2 separate regions of the Homo sapiens genome follow, and region 1 is linked to region 2. Evidence: promoter capture Hi-C in human tissues and cell types (Jung and others, 2019). All regions are on one chromosome and are shown on one strand. Each heading gives the region's core, a stretch centred on a gene start or on the middle of the fragment in contact. The rest is flanking DNA. Distances are from core to core; before and after follow the strand shown.

The links. Contacts are between HindIII fragments. The study calls those that stand out against the background at their distance.
Region 1: a fragment that was not itself captured here is called in contact with the fragment with the promoter of COQ5 in region 2 in 1 of the 25 tissues and cell types used here (dorsolateral prefrontal cortex).

What each region holds. Positions count from the first base shown.
Region 1 is chr12:120,999,436-121,005,627 of GRCh38, forward strand. It overlaps HNF1A (HNF1 homeobox A), which reads left to right. Exons shown (of 10, transcript NM_000545.8): 9 at 48-192; 10 at 1,630-3,077. The coding sequence ends at 1,757. C12orf43 (chromosome 12 open reading frame 43) reads right to left here. Exons shown (of 6, transcript NM_022895.3): 5 at 5,568-5,658; 6 at 1,051-5,054. The coding sequence ends at 4,718. Among named protein-coding and RNA genes, the nearest start is that of C12orf43, 14 kb to the right of the region's middle. The HindIII fragment of the contact is 9,568 bases long and covers 1-6,034 here.
Region 2 is chr12:120,525,431-120,532,634 of GRCh38, forward strand. COQ5 (coenzyme Q5, methyltransferase) reads right to left here and starts at 3,728. Exons shown (of 7, transcript NM_032314.4): 1 at 3,510-3,728. The coding sequence starts at 3,711. RefSeq lists enhancers at 2,718-3,488, 3,489-4,258, 3,605-4,064. The HindIII fragment of the contact is 25,598 bases long and covers 1-7,204 here.

The DNA.
Region 1 (6,192 bases), core at 1-2,500, 470 kb after region 2:
CTCACCCCCACATCCCCCGGGCTCAGGAGGCTGCTCTGCTCCCCCAGGTCTTCACCTCAGACACTGAGGCCTCCAGTGAGTCCGGGCTTCACACGCCGGCATCTCAGGCCACCACCCTCCACGTCCCCAGCCAGGACCCTGCCAGCATCCAGCACCTGCAGCCGGCCCACCGGCTCAGCGCCAGCCCCACAGGTGAGAGGCCCTGGCTCCACCCCCTCCCTTACTGTCCCTGCCCCCTTCCATGTTGGTCCCACCCCTTCTGTTGCTGTCCGTCACTGTGGGGCTGTGCATGCAGCAGGCCTAGGGCTGCTGTGAGGAAGCACTGGCAGGCGTGGAGGGGTGGGGTGGGCTTCCATGAAGCCCAAGAGGCACAGGCGACCCCAGGAAGATGGGGCCCACCTTACAAGAACATCTCAGGGACTGGACTGAGGAAAATGATGAAGTAATTGTTAGAGGCAGTGGAGAGTAACGATAAGGACCAGGTCTGTGAGCCAGAAGCGACTCTTGCATGTGTTTGGTTTGGCTTGGCTCAGGGTTGAACATTCTTTGAATTTGTTGCCAACATTTCAAAATCAGGAATTTTCACATAGAAATCCAGATTTCTGGCATCTTTTGGAAAATTGGAAAAATTCATATTCCCATATAACAGTGCACCAGGCCTCACTGCATCCACTCACATCGGCTCCAATGACCCCTGGCGGTGGGGCGGTCACCTGAGTTTGTAATCTATGATGCCATTGTCAGGAGTGGGCACTTTGGAGTCAGGTGGGTGGGCTTTGCAGCCTGCCTTTTTGCAAGCTGCCCCCTTTCTATAAGGTTCCTGGACCCGGCCCTGGCAGCTGTCATGACAGCCACTGAGGCCATTCTGTGTCCTGGCATTCACCCCATGAGGCGTGTCCATGACCACCCCCATTTTACAGATGAGAAAGTGGACACTCAAGGAGGGGAGGGACTTGCCTCATCTCCCACAGCTACCAGATGGCAGGGCCAGGACTCGAACCCAGGTCCCACCTCAAAGCCCATTCTCTTAACCATTGCCATCAGTCAGGGTTCTCCAGGAACACAGAACCAACAGATTTATTTGAAGGACTTGGCCCGTGTCTGCGGGGGGCTGGCAGGCCTGAAATCTGTTGCTGGCAGCTCTGGGGAGTGAATTCTGCAGCCTTGAGGCAGAATTCCTTCTCTGGGAAACCGGTTTTTGCTCTTACGGCCTTCCACTGATGTAGGAGGCCCACCCATATTTTCAGGGTAATCTCCTTCACTCAAAGCCAACTGATTGTGGCATTAACCACATCTACAAAGCACCTGCATTCACAGCAGCGCCTAGATTAGTGTTTGACTCAGCCTAGCCAAGCCAACACGTACAACTACCTACCTCGGCATCTCACCGGGGCTTCTCCAGTGTTCACACTAAGATGTACTCAGGCCACTCCATGGGCGGCCGTGGACCCTGGCTGGGAGGCTCCCTTTGAAGAACCGAGGGTAGAGGTGTGACTTTGGGGTTCCTGTTATCTGCTGTGATCCAGGAGGTGTGGCCCTGCCTCCCCATCCTGAGTACCCCTAGGGACAGGCAGGTGGGGTGGGTGTGGGTGCCTGGTGGGTGGCTAGCAGCCTTGTTTGCCTCTGCAGTGTCCTCCAGCAGCCTGGTGCTGTACCAGAGCTCAGACTCCAGCAATGGCCAGAGCCACCTGCTGCCATCCAACCACAGCGTCATCGAGACCTTCATCTCCACCCAGATGGCCTCTTCCTCCCAGTAACCACGGCACCTGGGCCCTGGGGCCTGTACTGCCTGCTTGGGGGGTGATGAGGGCAGCAGCCAGCCCTGCCTGGAGGACCTGAGCCTGCCGAGCAACCGTGGCCCTTCCTGGACAGCTGTGCCTCGCTCCCCACTCTGCTCTGATGCATCAGAAAGGGAGGGCTCTGAGGCGCCCCAACCCGTGGAGGCTGCTCGGGGTGCACAGGAGGGGGTCGTGGAGAGCTAGGAGCAAAGCCTGTTCATGGCAGATGTAGGAGGGACTGTCGCTGCTTCGTGGGATACAGTCTTCTTACTTGGAACTGAAGGGGGCGGCCTATGACTTGGGCACCCCCAGCCTGGGCCTATGGAGAGCCCTGGGACCGCTACACCACTCTGGCAGCCACACTTCTCAGGACACAGGCCTGTGTAGCTGTGACCTGCTGAGCTCTGAGAGGCCCTGGATCAGCGTGGCCTTGTTCTGTCACCAATGTACCCACCGGGCCACTCCTTCCTGCCCCAACTCCTTCCAGCTAGTGACCCACATGCCATTTGTACTGACCCCATCACCTACTCACACAGGCATTTCCTGGGTGGCTACTCTGTGCCAGAGCCTGGGGCTCTAACGCCTGAGCCCAGGGAGGCCGAAGCTAACAGGGAAGGCAGGCAGGGCTCTCCTGGCTTCCCATCCCCAGCGATTCCCTCTCCCAGGCCCCATGACCTCCAGCTTTCCTGTATTTGTTCCCAAGAGCATCATGCCTCTGAGGCCAGCCTGGCCTCCTGCCTCTACTGGGAAGGCTACTTCGGGGCTGGGAAGTCGTCCTTACTCCTGTGGGAGCCTCGCAACCCGTGCCAAGTCCAGGTCCTGGTGGGGCAGCTCCTCTGTCTCGAGCGCCCTGCAGACCCTGCCCTTGTTTGGGGCAGGAGTAGCTGAGCTCACAAGGCAGCAAGGCCCGAGCAGCTGAGCAGGGCCGGGGAACTGGCCAAGCTGAGGTGCCCAGGAGAAGAAAGAGGTGACCCCAGGGCACAGGAGCTACCTGTGTGGACAGGACTAACACTCAGAAGCCTGGGGGCCTGGCTGGCTGAGGGCAGTTCGCAGCCACCCTGAGGAGTCTGAGGTCCTGAGCACTGCCAGGAGGGACAAAGGAGCCTGTGAACCCAGGACAAGCATGGTCCCACATCCCTGGGCCTGCTGCTGAGAACCTGGCCTTCAGTGTACCGCGTCTACCCTGGGATTCAGGAAAAGGCCTGGGGTGACCCGGCACCCCCTGCAGCTTGTAGCCAGCCGGGGCGAGTGGCACGTTTATTTAACTTTTAGTAAAGTCAAGGAGAAATGCGGTGGAAACTTCTTGCTTGTCCACAAATCATTCAGATGGGGTTTGGGCAGGTAGCGGGAGGCTGGGGCAGGCCAGAGGCCTGCGAAGAGGAGACAGGCTCCAGCACCCACGCTCTCACACCCCACATCTCTGCTTTTCTTGCTCTGCTGAGACTCTAATGACAAAGCCAGATTTCATCTTAACCTCAAGCTTCTACTTTTTAAAAAAATTTTGTTTTGGAGACAGGGTCTCACTGTCACCCAGGCTGGACTGCAGTGGCATTATACAGCTCACTGCAGCCTTGAACTCCTGGACTAAAGGGATCCTCCCACCTCAGCCTCACAAGCAGCCTCACAGGCGCTCACTACCATGCCCAACTAATTTTTGTATTCTTTTTTTTATAGAGACGAGGTTTCACCATGTTGCCTAGGCTGGTCTGGAACTCGGCTCAAGTGATCCACCTGCCTCGGCCTCCCAAAGTGCTGGGATTACAGGTGTGAGCCACCATCCCTGGCCATGAGCTTCTACTTCTTTTCTTTTTCTTTTTCTTTTTTTTTTTTTGAGATAGGGTCTTGCTCCATTGCTTAGGCTAGAGTGCAGTGGCGCAATCTCGGCTCACTGCAACCTGCACCTCCTGGGTTCAAGCGATTCTCCCACCTCAGCCTCCTGAGTAGCTGGGATTACGGGCGTGTGTCAACATGCTCAGCTAATTTTTGTATTTTTAGTAGAGATGGGGTCTCGCCATGTTGGCCAGGCTGGTCTCAAACTCCTGGCCTCAATTGATCCACCTCCTTGGCCTCTCAAAATGCTTGGATTACAGGCATGAGCCACTGCACCCGGCCACAAGCTTCTACTTCTTGCAGAATGCCTTTGTCCCATGAAACCTAGTCCACGAGTGCTATGACACTTCCTGAAGTCTTGGGTGGGGTGAACGCACAAATCCTGGGGGTGTAGAGAGGAGGAGGATGTTTACTTAAAATGTCTTAAGGTTCAGCATTGACAGAGAGGCAATATCCAAATCACTCTAAGTTTTGTTTTGGGTCCTCTGACAATTGAGTTTCCATAATCTGGTCGGCTCAGAGACACCATCATGTGTGGTATATTCACAAATGCAGACAAAGAAAATTCTAGAAAGCCAGGGGTGAAAAAGCTCTCCTTTCTCAGACGATTCTGTGAAGTCTATGTGGGCTAAGGAGAGAAGAACAAAAGTTTCTCTGGGCCTTGGCCTCTTGGGGATCCCTTCTCTCATTTTCTAAAAACTGTTTCTCACACCAGGCTAAGGAGGTGGTGGGGAAGGTCTCCCTTCCCCTGCCCACCTCAGACAGTTCTAGGGAGATGGAGGTTTCACCACTTGGCCACTAGTCTCAAATAACTGGAAGGTTCCTTTTTTCCTGAGGTCATGAAATGTTCTGGAACCACAGCGCCCCCGCCAGCCCTCCGTGGGAGCACAGAGGGGCAGGCCTTGATTGGTCTTCTCACCCTACAGCCACTTTTTTGGCCCAACTCTCGAGCAAGCCTTCATCACCATCAGGGTCTCATGGGCAGTCTGGGTTTGCCAGCCCAGTCCTTGAACTTGGAGAGGGAGGTGGGGCTTGGAAATGCCTTGTCCCCAGGGTGGGGGGGACACCTTGTCCTTGGAGCTGGCTGAGCCCTGTGCCCATGGCTGGGTTCAGTTTGCAGGTATAGCTGTAGCACTCTTTGCTGGTGGGAATGGAGAGGTCTCGCTGGCCTTCTTTGCCTTTTTCTTCTTTTTGGTCCCAAGCGACACCTGGTCCCCGTTGAGCTCACCTGACTTCTGCTTCTGGACTGTGGCCATGCTGGTGGGGGTGGTGGCAGCGACAGCCGAGTCGACACTGGCCACCTTCTTGGCTTTCTTTTTCAACTTCCTTTTCTTCTTTGCCTCCTTCTCCACTGTTCCAGGGCTGTGGATGGCTGACTCCTGTAGGATGTCGGACGCCGACACAGCTGCCTCCCGGCACCGCCGCCACTCCTCGTCACTGTCCTCACTGCTGCAACGAGAGGGTACCCTGGGTTAGCTGGAGTCAGGACACAGCCCCAGAGCTGCCTCTCGCTGTCCTCCCTTGGTCCAGGTCACCAGAAGGTGGCCGCAGAGAGAGGCAGGTAGTGAGTTCAGGCTTGGGAGTGAGGCCAACCTGGCTTCCAATACTGGCTTCTGGGCGTAGCAGCCTTGTGACCTCCTTAAGTGACTTAACCTCTCTGACTGTATCATCTCTAAAACGGGGATCTTAACAGAGTCCAGGCCTCCCAGGGATGTCCCAGGAGGCAACTATGATCAAGTGAGGTGTCTGGCCCAAGACAGGTGCTCAAAAGCAGTAAACATCCAAAGCTGCCGCCAAGAGGGCTTTCCCTCCCGCTGAGCTCATGATTTCTCCAGCTGCCTGACAGGGCCACTGCCTTGGCCTGGTCCTGACTGGAGTCTGCTTGGCTATTCCAGGGAACCCACCAAGACAGAAGAGGAGAAAAAAGGAGGGGACGTGAGGAGAGGTGTGAGTTCTCACCTGGAGCTGGAGGGCTGTCGCTTTCGGCGGGGTTGGGGAGACTCTTCCTTCTCACGGCCTCCAGGGACAGATGTGAAGAAAAGGCGGAAACCTAAGATTCAATGGGGCAGAGTCAAACAAAAACAAAACAAAACAAAAAGAAACATAAAAAAATAAAAAATAAAGAAACAAAAAAGAAAAAAATTTTAAAAAGGAAAACGAAAGAAAGAAAAGATAAAGAGAAACAAAAAAAAAATTTTAAGAAGACACAAAATAAAAAAATTTAAAAAAGAAACAATAACAAAAAAACCCAACCAAGCAAACAAACAAAAAAAACAAAGGAGCAGAGTCAGCACCCCCAGATGCCAGCCCCTCCTCCCAGGTGCCAGGTGCTGAAGCTGCCCCGCCTCTGCCCTCAGGAGCTCCTGGTCCAGAGGCAAAGACCCAGGAATCAGTCGTCTAACTACAAAGTGATTCTGCATCTGCCAAGGGTCATGCTGATGCCTGATGGAGCCAGTGGAGGGCGCGCTGGAGCAGGAGCCAGCAGCCACATCAGCTCAGCAAGCCCTCAGAGGCTTCTGGAAGTCAGCACTTGAGCTCCTGACCTAAGGCAGCCTTCAAAGTGGCAAATGTGTTGGTACAGGAC
Region 2 (7,204 bases), core at 2,478-4,977:
ACACTAAGGCTAACCCCACTCGGTATAAATAGTCCTCCTTGCTGGCATGGTGGCACACACCTGGAGTGCCAGCTACTCGGGGGGCTAATGGGAGAGGACTGCTTGAACCCAGGAGTTCAAGGCTGCAGTGTGCTATGATTGTGCCTGTGAATAGACATTGTACCCCAGCCTGGGCAGCATAGTGAGAACTTGTCTCAAAAATAAATAAACAAGGCTGGGCGCAGTGGCTCATGCCTATAATCCCAGAACTTTGGGAGGCTGAGGCGGGGGGATCACGAGGTCCAGAGATCGAGACCATCCTAGCTAACACAGTGAAACTCCATCTCTACTAAAAATACAAAAAAACTAGCTGGGCGTGGTGGTGGGCGCCTGTAGTCCCAGCTACTCGGGAGGCTGAGGCAGGAGAATGGCATGAACCTGGGAGGCGGAGCTTACAGTGAGCTGAGATCGTGCCACCGCACTCCAGCCTGGGCGACAGAGCGAGACTCCATCTCCAAAAAAATAAATATAAATAAATAAATAAATAAGCAAATAGTCCTGGCTTTGCATGTTCCAATATGCATGAATTTCAGTTACTGTGGTTTAGCTAAACAACACCAGTCACCCAATACCACAATTCAAGTACAATGGTATATTAAATATGAGTAATTACATAAAATACATTCTTTAGCCTACAAATCACTATGTAAATAACAGATACACAACATGTTCAGCAACCAATCACGCACTTCTTTCCCAGACTTTAGGTGACTGGTCACTGCATCAGTTACTCAGTTCACAGACAGTAAAGCATGTACTTGTATTGCCTCTTTATCTTTCAGTGATAAAGCACACGTGGCATAACTGGATAAATGAAAGAGGGAATTGAGCAACAAAAATGAAAATGCTGATAATGCTGGAAGTGAAATTCAAATTGAGTGTCAGTGGAGTTATAGGAGAAATAGATGACTGTGGGAATATTGACACTGCTGCCACTGGAGAGACTCTAGACATACAGCCAGAGGAACTGCAGGAAGATGAACTTACCAACATGAACAAGAAATGGAGCTGTGACAAAAAGGTTGAAGATGTCCCAGAAGAAGTGATGCCAGCAAAAACTTTCACATTAAAGGAGTTCTTGGAGGTATTTCATAACATTGAAAGCACAAAGGATAAAATATCAGAAGTAGATAAAAACTTAGAAAGAAATATGGCAATTTGCCAAGGCATAGAAAAGATATTTCATACGACAAGAAGGTGGCAAATAGTGCTCAAACTACTCTTGGCAATTTTTTTTTTTTTTTTTTTTTTTTTTTTTTTTTTGAGACAGAGTCTTGCTCTGTCGCCCAGGCTGGAGTGTAGTGGCAGGATCTCGGCTCACTGCAAGCTCCTCCTCCCGGGTTCATGCCATTCTCCTGCCTCAGCCTCCGGAGTAGCTGGGACTACAGGCGCCCGCCACCATGCCCGGCTAATTTTTTTGTATTTTTAGTAGAGACGGAGTTTCACCGTGTTAGCCAGGATGGTCTCAATCTCCTGACCTCATGATCCACCCGCCTCGGCCTCTCAAAGTGCTGGGATTACAGGCGTGAGCCACTGCGCCCAGCCTACTCTTGGCAATTTTTTTACAAGGAAATAAAAGAATTTAATTCTCAAGGTTTCTAATTTTTTATTAGAATTTTTTTTCTTTGTTTTTGAGACAGTCTCACTGTGTCGCCCAGGCTAGAGTGCAGTGGCACAATCTCAGATCACTGCAACGTCCACCTCCCAGGTTCAAGAAATTTGCCTGCCTCAGCCTCCTAATTAGCTGTGATTACAGGCGTGCGTCACCATGCTTGGCTAATTTTTTTTGTATTTTTAGTAGAGATGAGGTTTCACCACGTTGGCCAGGCTGGTCTCGAACTCCTGACTTCAAGTGCCTACCTCGGCCTCCCAAAGTGCTGGGATTACAGGTGTGAACCATCGCACCTGGCTGTAAATAAATATCAACTTCAGTATATATTTTTTCATTTCACTATACATTTATAACTGACAGGGTTTTTGATGGTTGATAATTTTTAAAGGTCATAAAACAATTCTAATTTTTCCCATTGATTAAGGTCATTGTGTATGACTTCAGCTTGCACATTTTCACAGTCTTGCATTACTGTGCACAGCGAGGACTGTCTGTACTGCAATCTCAGTCCCCAATCTGGAATTCATATTTAGTTCAGTAGTTAACTTCTTCCTTGCTTGCCACTGTGTGAAATGTTGATTATACATTGATTATACATTGTAAAATGTTGATTATACATTGGCCGGTGTGGTGGCTCATGCCTGTAATCCCAGCACTTTGGGAGGCCGAGGCAGGTGGATCACGAGGTCAGGAGATCCAGACCATCCTGGCTAACATGGTGAAACCCTGTCTGTACTAAAAAAAAAATACAAAAAATTAGCCGGGCATGGTGGCGGGCCCCTGTAGTCCCAGCTACTCGGGAGGCTGAGGCAGGAGAATGGCGTGAAGCCAGGAGGCGGAGCTTGCAGTGAGCCGAGATCGCGCCACTGCCTTCCAGCCTGGGGGTGACAGAGAGAGACTCAGTCTCAAAAAAAAAAAAAAAAAAAAAAAAAAAAAAAAAAGAAACCCCGTCTCTACTGAAAATACAAAAATTAGCAGGGCACAGTGGCAGATGCCTGTAATCCCAGCTACTCAGGAGGCTGAGGCAGGAGGATCGCTTGAACCTAGGAGGCTGAGGTTGCAGTGAGCCCATATTGCGCCATTGCACTCCAGCCTGGGCAACAAGAGCGAAACTCCGTCTCAAAATAAATAAATAAATAAATAAATAAATAAAAACAACCAAAAAAACCCCTATTTTTCTCTAGAGGTAAAGAACGGGGGCTTCAGACTCAGATTAAACTGGGTTTGAATACTGGTTCCGCCACTTACTGATATGTTCAACTGGGCAACTTCTTGCTTAACCTTTAAGTCTCAATTTCCTCACGTGTAATATGGTAATAACAATACCCACTACTGGAATGTTGAAAATGAGAATTGAAAATAATGTCTGTACGTTGCCTGGCACATCACAAACGCTCAGTTGATGGGATTTAGTCATCAGTATTCTGCTTTTAAAAAGGGGGCGTCTGGCTGGGCGCGGTGGCTCACGCCTGTAATCCCAGCACTTTGGGAGGCCGAGGCAGGCGAATCACCTGAGGTCAGGAGTTCGAGACCAGCCTGGTGAAACCCCATCTCTAGTAAGAATACAAAAAAGTTAGCCGGGCGTGCTGGCGGGCGCCTGTAATCCCAGCTACTCGGGAAGCTGAGGCAGGAGAATCGCTTGAACCCGGGAGGCGGAGGTTGCAGTGAGCCAAGATCGGACCATTGCACTCCAGTGTGGGCAACAAGAGCGAAATTCTGTCTCCAAAAAAAAAAAAAATCATAACTGCACAGACAACAACACTGGAACTAATTGGATGTTAAATCAACCCTAACTGGCCAGAAGAAACCAGACCATGGACGGTCAGATCCCTCCCATCCGCCCTCTCGCCCCTTTCACCTTTGCCCCCCTTCTCCTCTTCCGACACAGTCTCAAACCCAAAGTGCGTTTCCGCTGCCCGCTTCTCTTGGGACAAGAGCCGAGCACTTAGTAGGTCCCCGGGCCAAGAGCTACGAAGCCCGAGGAGCTGGCAGCCCCGCATCGCCCGCGACCACCCACGGCCGCAATAGCTCCATAGAGCACAGCTCCCGGGGGCCGCCATCTTGGTAGTCGAGTGACAACGGCCAGAGAGTACGCCTTGTTGCGTCACTCCACGAACGACGGCGGCTGGCCGGCAACATTATTAGCCGAACGCGCCCTGAAATCTGATACACAGTTGTGCCGGCATTATCTCTAGGATCCAAAGGGTGGTCTCTAAGTATCGGAAATCCCTTCCTCTCTCTCTTCTCAAATTGAATTTACAATTCACCAGGAATCAGGGGATCTCAGGGGAGCCCCGGGTCACCTCTTAGCGGCCATGTCTCTGAATCCGGCTAGGCAGAAAAGTACTAACTCGCAAGATATCCAGGAACTCTTGTTGTCTTGTGCAGAAGGGGGAAATTGAGGCATGGTGTGGTTAAAAAGCCAAGATCACGGGCCAATTCCTGCACACTTTGTTGAGCGTAAGAATCACTTGGTTTACGTTTTAAAATGAAGATTCCTGGGTCCCCAACTACCAGAGATTTTGATCTGACCTATATCCCTTTAATCTCTATTTAAACAAATTTCTCTGGCGATTCTGATGCTAAAGATGCAGACCATTCTTGAGAAACATATGTTACACTACTCTGAAAAATAAACATAGGACAGACTTCTTTGTTCTGTCCGTTTTATGAACCTAGGAAGCTCATAAATGGGAACGAAAGCTCTGGTATCCACTTAGCAAGCCAGAACCACCACTCACACTTGGTCTCCTGCTGACACAAAGCTACATTCCTAGCTCCAGGTGGCATGTCATGGGTGTTTTACTTCAGCCCCAGATTTTCAGTCTTTTTTTAATGGCAAGGGTAATGCAGACCGTCTTGTGCAAAATAAAGAACGGACGTTGTTGAGTTTTGCTTGGATTACTGTATGTTTCTGCTTTCATTCCATTTTAAATGTATGTTTCCTGTAAATATTTCACGAGGAGAAAGCGCCAATAGAAGAAACTGTTTTGAAATGAAAATTCTCTTCCTGGTTTAATATAGCCTGACAGATGGACACCTAACCGCTTTCGTTTGGGAAGTACTGCGCTGGGATTTCTGTTTCTTTCTCTTTTATTTTAAGAATGATAGAAGGTCCTCGTTGGTATAGTGATGAGAAAAAAAAAAGGAAGGATACAAGGGCGAAATGATTCATCCATGTATTCATAATTCTCATGTCTTTGTTAAAAGAAATTAAGTGGCTGGGTGCGGTGGCTCACGCCTGTAATCCCAACACTTTGGGAGCCCGAGGTGGGCGGATTGCATGAGGTCAGGAGTTCGAGACCAGCATGGCTAACATGGTGAAACCCCGTCTCTACTAAAATACAAAAATCAGCCAGGCATGGTGGTGCACACCTGTAGTCCCAGCTATTCAGGAGGTTGAAGCAGGAGAATCCCTTCAACCCAGGAGTCACTGGTTGCAGTGAGCTGAGATTGCACCACTGCACTCAAGCCTGGGTGACAGAGCCAGACTCCATCTCAAAAATAAATAAATAAATAAATAAATAAATAAATAAAGTCTCATCAAAGAATCTTATATCTTCCATATCTAGTTATATAAAAGAATGGATCTCAGGATTTAGGGCTGTTCCTTCTGCACATCAGATTAAGTATCCAGACCAACAGTATTTCACTGTTCTCTTATTTCATATGATATGTGGAGGAAAACCTGTAAAAAGTGAAGTAGGACAAGGACTGTTGGAAGGTATTTTTTTTTTGAGGTAGCGTCTTGCTCTGTTGCCCAGACTGGAGTGCAGTGGCATGACTTCGGCTCACTGCAACCTCTGTCTTCTGGGTTCAAGTGATCCTCCTGCCTCAGCTTCCCTAGTAGCTGGGATTACAGGCATGCGCCACCATGCCAGGCTAATTTTTGTATTTTTAGTAGAGATGGGGTTTCGCTATATTGGCCAGGCTGGTCTTGAACTCCTGACTTCAGGTAATCCACCTGCCTCAGCCTCCCAAAGTGCTGAGCCACCACTCCCGGCGCTAATTTTTGTATTTTTAGTAGAGATGGGGTTTCACCATTTTGGCTAGGCTGGTCTTATTTACTTATTTATTGATTCATTCTTTATTTTGAAATAGGATCTCACTTTGTCACCCAGGGTGGAGTGCAGTGGCACAATCATAGCTCACTTCTCACCCTCCCAGGCTCAAGCCATCCTCCCACCTCAACCTCCTGAGTAGCTGGGACTACAGGTGTGCACCACCACACTGGGCTGATTTTTGCATTTTTTGTTGAGACAGGGTTTTGCCATGTTGCCCTGAATGGTCTTGAACTCCTGGGCTTGGGCAATCTGCCTACCTCAATCTCCCAAAGTGCTGGGATTATAGGCGTGAGCAACCGCACCTGGCCCTGGTCATTTCCTTAATAGCATGTCTATGTGATCTTTTGAATCTCAAACTACTATGGTTGGAAGGGAATCATTTGTAATTTTCCAAAGTACAAATAGGTGTGGTATGATTCCCAAAGTCTTAGCGTCTATATCTGTAAACCATATGTTTTTGTTTTTTGTTTTTTAATTTTTAGTAGAGAATTGGTTTCACTATGTTCAGGCTGGTCTCAAACTCCTAACATCAAGTGATCTTCCTGCCTCAGCCTCCCAGAATGTTGGGATTGAGCTACCTTGCCTGGCCACATACATGATTTTCCTTTTTTTTTCTTTTTTTTTTTTTTTGAGACAGAGTCTCGCTCTGTCACCCAGGCTGGAGTGCAGTGGCCCAATCTCAGCTCACTGCAACCTCCGCCTCCCAGGTTCAAGCGATTGTCCTCCCTCAACCTCCCAAGTAGCTGGGACTACAGGTGTGCGCCACCACGCCCGGCTAATTGTTGTATTTTTAGGAGAGACGGGGTTTCACTGTATTGGTCAGGCTGGTCTCGAAATCCTGACCTCGTGATCTGCCCGCCTCGAACTCCCAAAAAGTGCTGGGATTACAGGCCTCCCAAAAAGTGCTGGGATTACAGGCCTCCCAAAAAGTGCTGGGATTACATTGCACCTGACCCACATACATTATTTTCTTTCTTCTTTTTTTTTTTGAGATGGAGTCTCGCTCTGTTGCCCAGGCTGGAATACAGTGGTGCAGTCTTGGCTCACTGCAACCTGTGCCTTCTGGGTTCAAGTGATTCTCCTGCCTCAGCCTCCTCAGTAGCTGAGATTACAGGTGCGCACCACCACGCCTGGCTAATTTTTTTGTATTTTTAGTAGAGACGGGGTTTCACTATGTTGGTCAGGCTGGTCTCGATCTCCTGACCTGTTGATCCACCCGGCTTGGCCTCCCAAAGTGCTGGGGTTACAGGTGTGAGCCACCGTGCCCGGCCCCATATGCATGATTTTCTAAATCTCAGTCTGTATCTGTAAAATGAGGAACTGCTTGTCTCATAGGTAAGAACATCACTTGTTAGCTATGTGATAATAGGCAAATTATCTGGACTTTTGGAGTCCATTTACTCATCTTTAAATTTTATTTATTTAGGGACAGAGTCTTGTTGTGTTACCCAGGCTGGATTCATACTCTTGGGCTCAAGTGATCATCCCT